Linked DNA regions of Homo sapiens: all the other regions are linked to region 1. The links are contacts of gene promoters, found by promoter capture Hi-C in blood cells and fetal thymus (Javierre and others, 2016). All regions are on one chromosome and are shown on one strand. Each heading gives the region's core, a stretch centred on a gene start or on the middle of the fragment in contact. The rest is flanking DNA. Distances are from core to core; before and after follow the strand shown. Region 1 holds the start of SERPINC1 (serpin family C member 1). Region 2 has its middle 77 kb from the start of FASLG. Region 3 overlaps MRPS14 (mitochondrial ribosomal protein S14).

Region 1 (3,358 bases), core at 615-3,114:
CACCTATATTTTTGCAGGGCCCCTCATCTGCCCTCCCCCAAGGACCTTCTTGGCAAGACACAAACCTCATAACTCCTATAAGCTGGAACAATAGGTCTCAACAGCATGTTCCTGAAACCTCAAGGTCTTTGTATTTCTGATTTCTCTTTGGACAGCTCTTCCTAAAGATATTCATATGGCCCCCTCCATCATTTCATTCTGGTTTCCTAACAATGATTCCTAAGGGAGGCCTTTCCTACCAAGTGTTCTCAGATGGTGCCCTCCCCACTTCCTCCCACTGCTTCCTATATCCTTGCCCTGCTATAGTTTTCTCTATGGACCTTATTAACATCTGACTGGCACGTTACATATTTATTTTTTAAATACTGATTTTTTTTTTTTGAGATGGAGTCTTGCTCTGTCACCCAGGCTGGAGTGCAATAGCACGATCTCGGCTCACTGCAACCTCTGCCTCCTGGGGTCAAGTGATTCTCCTGCCTCAGCCTCCTGAGTAGCTGGAATTACAGGTGCCCACCACCATGCCCAGCTATTTTTTGTATTTTTAGTAGAGATGGGGTTTCACCAGGTTGGCTAGGCCGGTCTCGAACTCCTGACCTCAGGTGATCCACCTGCCTCAGCCTACCAAAGTGCTGGGATTACAGGTGTGAGCCACCACGCTTGGCCTAAAATACTGATTCTTTATGTGATTGCTGTATGTCTCCCCCGAATGGAATCCCAGCCCCAAGAACAGTGTCTGCTGGCACAAGCAGCACTCGTGTATTTGTTGAACTCAAGTGGTTGAACAGGAGACTTTTCAATAGTCTTTAATCTAGGGTGACAGATGAGCCTCTGGGCATTCTGGGGCCCTTTGGGACAGTTCTCGGCTACTGTTCACACTGCACATGGAGGGCTTCAAAGGATCCAGGGTCTGAATCAGCCAAGAACTTAGACACAGCTTCAGTTCAGGAGAGATGTCCTCTCTCATGAACGAAGAGCTCTCGAAAATGCCTATGACTGCAACAACAACTACAAGGAGTCCTTGATCACACAGCAGGAGGCACATGCGCCCTGTGAACTTGGTGGCTGCAGTCCTTGTGATGGTGCTTTTGGCTATTTCAGAAGAGGGAAATGTAAACAAACCTGCCCTTTATCTCCACTAGTTTGAATTTACCCAATCTCCCCAATAACTAATAAAAATAACGATACACATAAATATAATTTAGTTTGTTTTTATTTCAGCAGTTGTACGTGGGTTTTTCACCTGCCCCGCATTCTGTCTCCTGATCCCCCAGTAGAGTTTTGCTAAGTATTTCCCAGCTGCTCACACCCCTTAGAAACGCGCTTGGCATGCACCCCGAGGCCCTGCTCTTCTCTCCCTGTCCCACCACTTCAGGGCTGCTGGGGAATGGGTCTCTCTGTGGGCCACAGGTGTAACCATTGTGTTTTCCTTGTCTGTGCCAGGGACACCTTGGCACTCAGATGCCTGAAGGTAGCAGCTTGTCCCTCTTTGCCTTCTCTAATTAGATATTTCTCTCTCTCTCTCCCTCTCTCCATAAAGAAAACTATGAGAGAGGGTGGGTATGAACCAAGTTTGTTTCCTTGGTTAGTTTCCTAACCAAGTTTGAGGGTATGAACATACTCTCCTTTTCCTTTTCTATAAAGCTGAGGAGAAGAGTGAGGGAGTGTGGGCAAGAGAGGTGGCTCAGGCTTTCCCTGGGCCTGATTGAACTTTAAAACTTCTCTACTAATTAAACAACACTGGGCTCTACACTTTGCTTAACCCTGGGAACTGGTCATCAGCCTTTGACCTCAGTTCCCCCTCCTGACCAGCTCTCTGCCCCACCCTGTCCTCTGGAACCTCTGCGAGATTTAGAGGAAAGAACCAGTTTTCAGGCGGATTGCCTCAGATCACACTATCTCCACTTGCCCAGCCCTGTGGAAGATTAGCGGCCATGTATTCCAATGTGATAGGAACTGTAACCTCTGGAAAAAGGTAAGAGGGGTGAGCTTTCCCCTTGCCTGCCCCTACTGGGTTTTGTGACCTCCAAAGGACTCACAGGAATGACCTCCAACACCTTTGAGAAGACCAGGCCCTCTCCCTGGTAGTTACAGTCAAAGACCTGTTTGGAAGACGTCATTTCAAGTGCTCTCCCTCCCACCCCACCTCTTGGGGTAAGGCCTTTCCTAAGCTACCCCTTGGGTCCCTAGCCTAAGAAACAAGGGGGATGTCATCCCTGGTGTAAAGATGCTGTGCAGGAAGTCAGCACTCACGGGATCCAGGGGACGCTCCAAGGGGAATCCCCAGGGCCTGCCATCCATCCGGGAAGAGAGCAAATGCTACCCATGAGGACCTCCTCACTCCCTTTTTGCTCTTTCTTCCACTCAGATCCACCCCACTCCACCCCCACCCAAATCCCAGTGACCTTTGACTAAAGGGCCAAAACTGCTTCCTTTTCTCACAATGAGAGTTGTCCCTCCCTCAATGCCACACACACTCCCTTCTTCATCTGAGTTGTCACAGGAGGCTAGAAACGGGGTGGTGGCACAACTGTCTTGGTTTTAATTTGTGCTTCATAGCCCTCCCAGGGTCCTCTCAGCCTCAAATTGCATTTCCAAATGTAGTTGAAGGACAGAGTGGGCAACCGAAGGCAGTGGAGATGGGAAGATGAATGGCAGGGTCCTCTCCTCTCTCTCTCTGCTTCTTCAGCCTGCCTTCCACATCTCCCTTGGTGCCGCTGCTTCTCTCCGGCTTTGCACCTCTGTTCTTGAAAGGGCTGCAGAACTGGACTCAGACCACGCAAGAAGGCAAGTCCCCCTCAGCTGCCCCAGCTTCCAGCCAGCCCCAGGCTTGCCCAACGGACCACGTCCGTGAATCTGCACTGGGTGCCTGTCTTTCTCTCCCAGGAGAAGATGGGAAGATCCAGTACCCACACACAGACCCCCTTGTGTACACGCAGGAACCATAAACCAGCTGGAGGCAGCCCCTGCCCCACCCTGTCTTATCTACAAAAAATATTACAAGAGACTTTATCTCTTGATTTGCTTCATCGAGTGTCCCAACTACCTCATTTTTTTAAAATGTGAAATTAGCTTCATTTACCTTCATTGAATCCATGTTGGCGACTATTAAAAATTCCAGGCAATAAAAAGGGATGAGAGCCTGAACTAAAGCAGTGGCAATAACTGGTGAAAGAGTAAAAAAACAGAACTGATTGACTCTGGGGTGAACTGATTGACTCTGGGGTTTGACTAAATGAGGAGGAGAGAGGGAGGAATCCAGGGTGATTCTCAGGTTTCTGTACGGGATTCACTGAGCCCACTCACAGGAGCAGGCCTGTGGGGGAGAATTAATTACCAGTTCAGTTTGGTCCTGTTTCCC
Region 2 (3,358 bases), core at 457-2,956, 1.2 Mb after region 1:
AGAAAGAAAGAAAAAATTAAACAACACCCTTCTAAATAACCCATTGATCAAAAAGTCTCAAGAGAATTCAGAAAATATTTTGACCTACTTAAATATGAAAAGAACATATCAAAAATTGGGGGATACAATTAAAGTCTATAAGCAGCTTACTATAAATATTATTATATAGATCAATTAAAAATAAAAGAATAGAAAATGACAAACCATCAACATACACTAACAAAAAGAATGCAAGAATGGCTATATTGTTATCAAAGCAAACTTCAGAACAAGGAACATTGTCAGGGAGGAAGAGAGGCAAACATACCAAGAACACATAACAATCCAGGTATGTATGTGCAAAACCACAGAGCTTCAAAATACATGAATCGAAAACTGATACAACTAAAAGGAAAAATGGACAAATCTACAATTATACTTGGAGACATCAAAGCACCTCCTGATAATTAACAGAAGTAGAAAATAGGCAAGAATTAAGAAGACCTGAACAACCAGAAAAGTGAACATTTTATAGCTGCTCAGTCCCTTGTCTTTTGAGAGAAAAAAAACATTCTAGAAAAGATAAAAATGAATTTATTTTATGAACAACCCTATTTGACCTAAGTTCCATGAACACTATTCTTCATCAACTAAATACTGGTTGGAACAGACTTATCTTTTATAAAAATTAACAGAAGTTATAATTCAATCTCTAGGTCATTTGTATGGCAGAAATATTACATATAGTTAATATTATTTACAAAGTCATGTTATTTTGACATTATGACAAATTGTGTCAGAAATGCCCAGAGTACCTTCTCTTAGCCTTTTCCTGGGGACTTAATTTTGTTTTTTCTTAGTTATGTCTAGATTTAATCATTGCTTCTGCCAATTCAGTTTCTAGGTTCTGATGTTCAGTTGTGTATAATAGACTATGAAATATAGTGATCTGATAGTTTACTAGCGTATTTAAAGGAAATATCTTTTAAAAGTAAATAGTTTGTGGCAGGCATCAGTCTATGAAAGGGAAGCCTAATTTTGAAAACTATAAGCTTTCATATTATATAATATGTGAAAACCTCATATATGTGAAAGCATTATCGCTATGTATTTTTAATAGCATTATACCAGAAATTTTTAGAAGATTATATACTTTTTAATTAAATTATAGCAGTGAAAATAGCAAACACAAGAACTAGATTTTGGACAGAAGAAGAAAGAAATACATAAAATCTCTTTCACCCTTTTTTCTGATTCTTTTTCAAAATAGCAAACTTTTGCCTGTTGTGACTGAAATGTACTACCAAATATGACTTCTCAGGGTCTTTCATATTTCAAATATTGTATCAATGTGTTTTATTTTTAATTCTCTAATTTATGATAACTTGTTTTTCTAGTTTGTGGTATGCAAAGATATGTGCAGAGCCTTTCAAATAAAGTGACTCTGAACAAAAACAAAAAAAAGAAGATCTGAACATTCTCCGTCAACTTGACCTAATTAATATTTATAAAGTATTCTGCCCTAGAACAAGAGAATATACATTCTTTTCAAGTGTATGTGGAACATTCACCAAGGTAGATCAGAGATTAGCAAACTATAACCTGTGGACAAAATTTCACCCACCATCTATTTTTGTAAATTAGTCTTATTGAGACATAACCATGCCAATTTGTTTGTGTGTTGTCTGTGGCTATTTTTGTGTCACAAAGGCAGAGATGAATAGTGCAGGAGAGACCATATGGCCCTAACACCAAAAGTATTTACTATCTGACCCTTTACAGAAAAGGTTACCTACCAATCTTCTGCACCATAAGCAAACTATAGCCAATTGAAAACAATAGAAAGCATTGTTTTCTTTGACCGTAAGAGAATTAAATTAGAAATTAATAACGAGGGTATCTGGAAAATTCCAAAAATTTTGGAAATTAAGTAAAACCTTTCTAAGTAACCCATTGATCAAAAAGGAAGTCTCAAGAGAATTCAGAAAATATTCTAAATTACCTAAATATTAAAATACAGGGCCAGACACAGTGGCTCCCACCTGTAATCCCAGCACTTTGGGAGGCCAAGGCAGGTGCTTCACTTGAGGCCAGGAGTTCAAGACCAGCCTGGCAAACATGATGAAACCCCATCTCTACTAAAGATACAAAAAAAATAGCTGGGAGTGGTGGCACACACCTGTAGTCCCAGCTACTGAGACACGAGACATGAGAATCACTTGAACCCGGGAGGTGGAGTTTGCAGTGACCCGAGATTGTGCCACTGCACTCCAGCCTGGGTAACAGAGTAAGACTCTTGTCTCAAAAAATAACTACATAAATAAATAATGTTTCAACTCTGGACAATATCCATTGACTTCCAGCCAAGAAACATGAGGAAAAAAAGAAAAGAATAAAGCTTTTAAATTTATATTCCAACTTTATACCTTAAGAAACTAGAAAAATAAGAGCAAATTAAACACAAAGCAAATGGAAGGAAGAAAATAAGAAAGAGCACAAATCAATAAAATTAAAAACACAAAATAGAGAACATTTATAAAATCAATTGTATTAAAACATCAAAATTATTAATAAACCCCTAGCCAGACTAAGACAGAAAAAAGATAACACAAATTATCAATATCAGGAATGAAAGAAGGGATATTACTACAGATACTACAGACATTAAAAGGGTACAAGAGAATACTACAAATAACTTTATGCCCATACATTCAATGACTTAAATAAAATGGAATAAATCTTTAAAGATACACTGCCAAAATTCACTTGAGAAGAAATAAGTAAACTGAGCCATCTATTAAAAGCTGAATTTATAGTTTAAAACCTTCCAACAAAGAAAAGTACCACAAGACTTCACTGATAATATCAACCAAACATTTGAGAAAGTAATAACATTAAATCAACATAATTTTTTCCAGAAAATAGACTAGGAGAAATATTTTCTAAATTTTTTTGTGAGGTCATCATTACCCTGACAACAAAACCAGACAAAATGTATGCAAGAGAATAAAATTACAAACCAATATCCTTCATGAGCATGATCACGAAAAATTCCCAATGAATTATTAACAAGTAATATCCAGGAACATATAAGAAGGAATATACACCATGAGCAAGATAAGTTTATCTACGAAATGAAAGAATGTTTCTTCATTTGAAAATCAATCAGTATAATTAATCATATCAGCAAACTAAAAAAAAAAAAACTATGTGATTATCTTGATTATCTTCATAGATGCAGAAAAAAACATTTGACAAAACTCAATGTCCAGTCATAATTTTTTTAAAAAACTTACAGCAAACTATAAATATAAGGTTGTCTTCTTAAACTGATTGAAGGCAGCTATGAAAAATGTACAGTTAATTTTTTATGGAGAAA
Region 3 (3,358 bases), core at 332-2,831, 1.1 Mb before region 1:
AGAGTAGATCTGAAGTGTTCTTACCACACATACACAAACGGTAATTTTGTGAGGTGAAGGATGCATTCATTAACTTCATTGTGGTAATCATTTCACAATGTATATGTTTAGCAAATCATGACATTGTATGCCTTAAATATATGCAATTTTTATTTGTCAACTATACATTAATACAGCTGGGGGTGTGTTGTTTGAGTACCTTTATGAAGATACCCAGAAGACATGTCTCTGGTATGACTAGCAGCAATAACTGTGCAGAGTCTGTGAATCATGTAAACTGATCATGGTTCTCTGCTGCCTGCCAAGTAGCTTACAAGTCAAATTTATGTCCCAGTTCTAATTTCACAGCATGCACTTTTGTGTCCTGAGGCTTTTATCTTTCCTACTCTCATTTCTCTTTGCCCCAGTTTCCTCATTTGTAAACTGCCTTAAATCTTTCGGGGAACAAGAAGGAAGGGGTATGTATCAATCAATCAATCCATAATTTCTAGCCATTCTTTAAGGTCCACCTCCATGAAACTTGGCTTCAATCTTCTTGCCCAGTCATTTCTCCTCTCCAGTTCCTTGTATAGCATTTATTGTTTACTACTCAATGGCTCAATCATGGTTTTTTTTTGTTTTTTTTTTTTTGAGATGGGGTTTTGCTCTTGTTGCCCAGGCTGGAGTGCAGTGGCACAATCTGGGCTCACCACATCTGCCTCCTGGGTTCAAGCGATTCTGCTGCCTTAGCCTCCCGGCCAGATGGGATTACAGGCATGTGCCACCACACCCAGCTAATTTTGTATTTTTAGTAGAGATGGGGTTTCCCTATGTTGGTCAGGCTGGTCGCGAACTCTTGACCTCAGATGATCCGCCTGCCTCGGCGTCCCAAAGTGCTGGGATTATAGGCGTGAGCCACTGTGCCTGGCAATCATGTTGTTTTATGTAATTCTGTTAGTTCATAATGGTAACACATGCATAAGCTTTTGTTAATTTTTGGCTTTTATATACTTTCATTTAATTTGTGTTATTTTAATGTGTTATTTTGCTTGCACCGCAGTCTAGCACAGGGTCCATCTACTTGTTAGCACACTTATCAGATTAAAGTGAATATTATGAACACTCACACTCTTGAACACATACATAAGAAGAAATCTCTACTGACAAAACCTGAGCCCTAGCTACTGCTGTAATCCCTACTTTTCTCCCCTCAACCACTTTGCCCTTACCTGATTCATCCTCTACCTTGCAAATGATTTTTTTTAAATATAAACCTCATCTGATCTCTCCCCTTTACTTCTCTAGCTGTCAGAATCTTTACCATAGACATCAGGGCTCCATGTGATACTCTCCTTCCTCCTTCTCTAGTCTTATCTCAAGCCACATTCCCTCCTATTTGATCATCATTCCAGAGGTTTCACTTTCGTGATTCAAAAAACATGAGGCGGCAACAGAAATACATTCACATACTTTACAAATGAGTTAAACAAGAGTATGTAGCTGCACTATTTATATTCGCCCAAATCGTAAGATGACCATCAAATGTAGGATGGATAAATGAATTATGGTACTCATGCAATGAACATTACCTGCCAGTGGCCAGGCGCTGTGGCTCACACCTGTAATCCTAGCACTTTGGGAGGCAGAGATGGGCGGATTGCCAGAGCTCAGGAGTTTGAGACCAGCCTGGGCAACGTGGTGAAACCCCGTTTCTACTAATAATACAAAAAATTAGCTGAGTGTGGTAGTGCACACCTGTAATCTCAGCTACTCGGGAGGCTGAGGCAGGAGAATCACTTGAACCCAGGAGGCGGAGGTTGCAGTGAGCTGAGATTGTGACATTGCACAATCTAACACCCACAGCCTGGGTGACAGAGCGAGACTCTGTCTCAAAAAAAAAAAAAAAAGAAAAGAAAATTACCTGCAAGTGAGAAGGAGCAAAATACATGTGCAACAATGTAATGTGATCTGTGTAATAATGTGATTTCCCTTAGGATGTGGCTGATGAAGAAATTGCTGCCCTCCCCCGGGATAGCTGTCCTGTTAGAATCAGAAATCGGTGTGTTATGACGTCCCGTCCGCGTGGTGTGAAGCGGCGCTGGAGGCTTAGTCGTATAGTCTTCCGTCACTTAGCTGACCATGGGCAACTTTCTGGGATCCAGCGAGCGACATGGTAAATGAGCTCCAGAACCTATTGAGCTTGCAGGGAAGCCAAGCTTGCAGTTCCAGCAAGCAAAGATTTTTTTTAATAGACCAAACCCTAATCTCTACAGGGGCCCAGTACAGTTGTTTGGCCTACCTGATGCTATCTCTAAACTACTTTTAAAATGAAGACATTTGGGTGTTTCATGTCAGTGAATTATCTTTTCTCTTGGACTTAACAAACATACTGTTCCCATACATAGTACAAAGAGTAGCATAATAAATATTTTCTGTGAATGTTTTTTATACCCTCCTTTTAAGTTTAATCTTTTAGTAACATATAGGGGTTTTTGTATTAAGAGCATTATTTCATAAAATGCTATCTTATACATAATCCAACTAATTGACATGTAGCTCATGTATGGCAGTTTGTAATCCTGGACTAGCTTTGCTGACCTGCAGAGCTCCCCTTAACTATTATTGTTAGATAAACAGATTGGATAGCAAGGCTGCTGTTCTGGATTATCTAATGCTCCACTTCTTCTTGTGATGGCTGAACAAAAGAACCACTAAGTGTTTTCTTGTCCATCCTTAAGGGACTTTAAAACAAATTATGCCTCTTTAAGTCCTTGAAAGTCTCCATCTAAAGAGGAAAAGTTTGTTGGAACAGTATATATTCCCTATTTTTATGTTTATTTAATCCATAACAGAAATGAGTAAGGGTAGCACAAAGTTCTCATTCAGTAACTCAACAGTGTGATCATCAGCCCAGTGATAAAAATATACATACTGAATGGAAGTACCTACTTAACATCAGGAAAATATTCCTGGAGAACTTAATAAATCAGGAGGTGAGGGGTGAGATTTTTTTCTGCACACAGAGGGAACAAAAGCACAAAGAAGCAAAGGCACTCTGTAGCATCAGAGAACCACAGTCACTTCAGTAGATCAGAAATATGAAGCACAAGACAAGGCCCGTATTGTGGAGGATCTCACAAATCATGTGAAGGAATTAAGACTGACATACCAGGTATTACAGAGTTTTAAGCACAGGAATGACATCATCAGTTTGTAATACAGGTAAGTGACAGCTGTGTGGCAGATGGCCATGAGAGGAAAAAGCTACAGGCAAGACAACCAGTTAGGAGGATGTCTTAGTTGTTGAGGAAGATGAAGGCCTGAACTAACATTGTGGTATTAGTAGAGGAGAGAGGACAGATTTTTAAAGTTTTAGGAA

What was found. Contacts are between HindIII fragments. The CHiCAGO score rates a contact against its expected background, and 5 or more counts as called.
Region 2: a fragment that was not itself captured here is called in contact with the fragment with the promoter of SERPINC1 in region 1 in 1 of 17 cell types (total B cells); the score reaches 5.0 in total B cells.
Region 3: a contact is called between a fragment that was not itself captured here and the fragment with the promoter of SERPINC1 in region 1, in 1 of 17 cell types (neutrophils). The highest score is 6.6, in neutrophils.

Annotation. Positions count from the first base shown.
Region 1 is chr1:173,915,833-173,919,190 of GRCh38, reverse strand. It overlaps SERPINC1 (serpin family C member 1), which reads left to right and starts at 1,864. Exons shown (of 7, transcript NM_000488.4): 1 at 1,864-1,972. The coding sequence starts at 1,932. It overlaps LOC124904457 (a long non-coding RNA gene), which reads right to left and starts at 2,691. Exons shown (of 2, transcript XR_007066739.1): 1 at 2,251-2,691. The HindIII fragment of the contact is 6,307 bases long and covers 1-3,358 here.
Region 2 is chr1:172,734,079-172,737,436 of GRCh38, reverse strand. No RefSeq gene overlaps it. Among named protein-coding and RNA genes, the nearest start is that of FASLG, 77 kb to the right of the region's middle. The HindIII fragment of the contact is 1,346 bases long and covers 1,034-2,379 here.
Region 3 is chr1:175,013,467-175,016,824 of GRCh38, reverse strand. MRPS14 (mitochondrial ribosomal protein S14) reads left to right here. Exons shown (of 3, transcript NM_022100.3): 3 at 1,974-3,358. The coding sequence ends at 2,156. Among named protein-coding and RNA genes, the nearest start is that of MRPS14, 8.3 kb to the left of the region's middle. The HindIII fragment of the contact is 1,233 bases long and covers 965-2,197 here.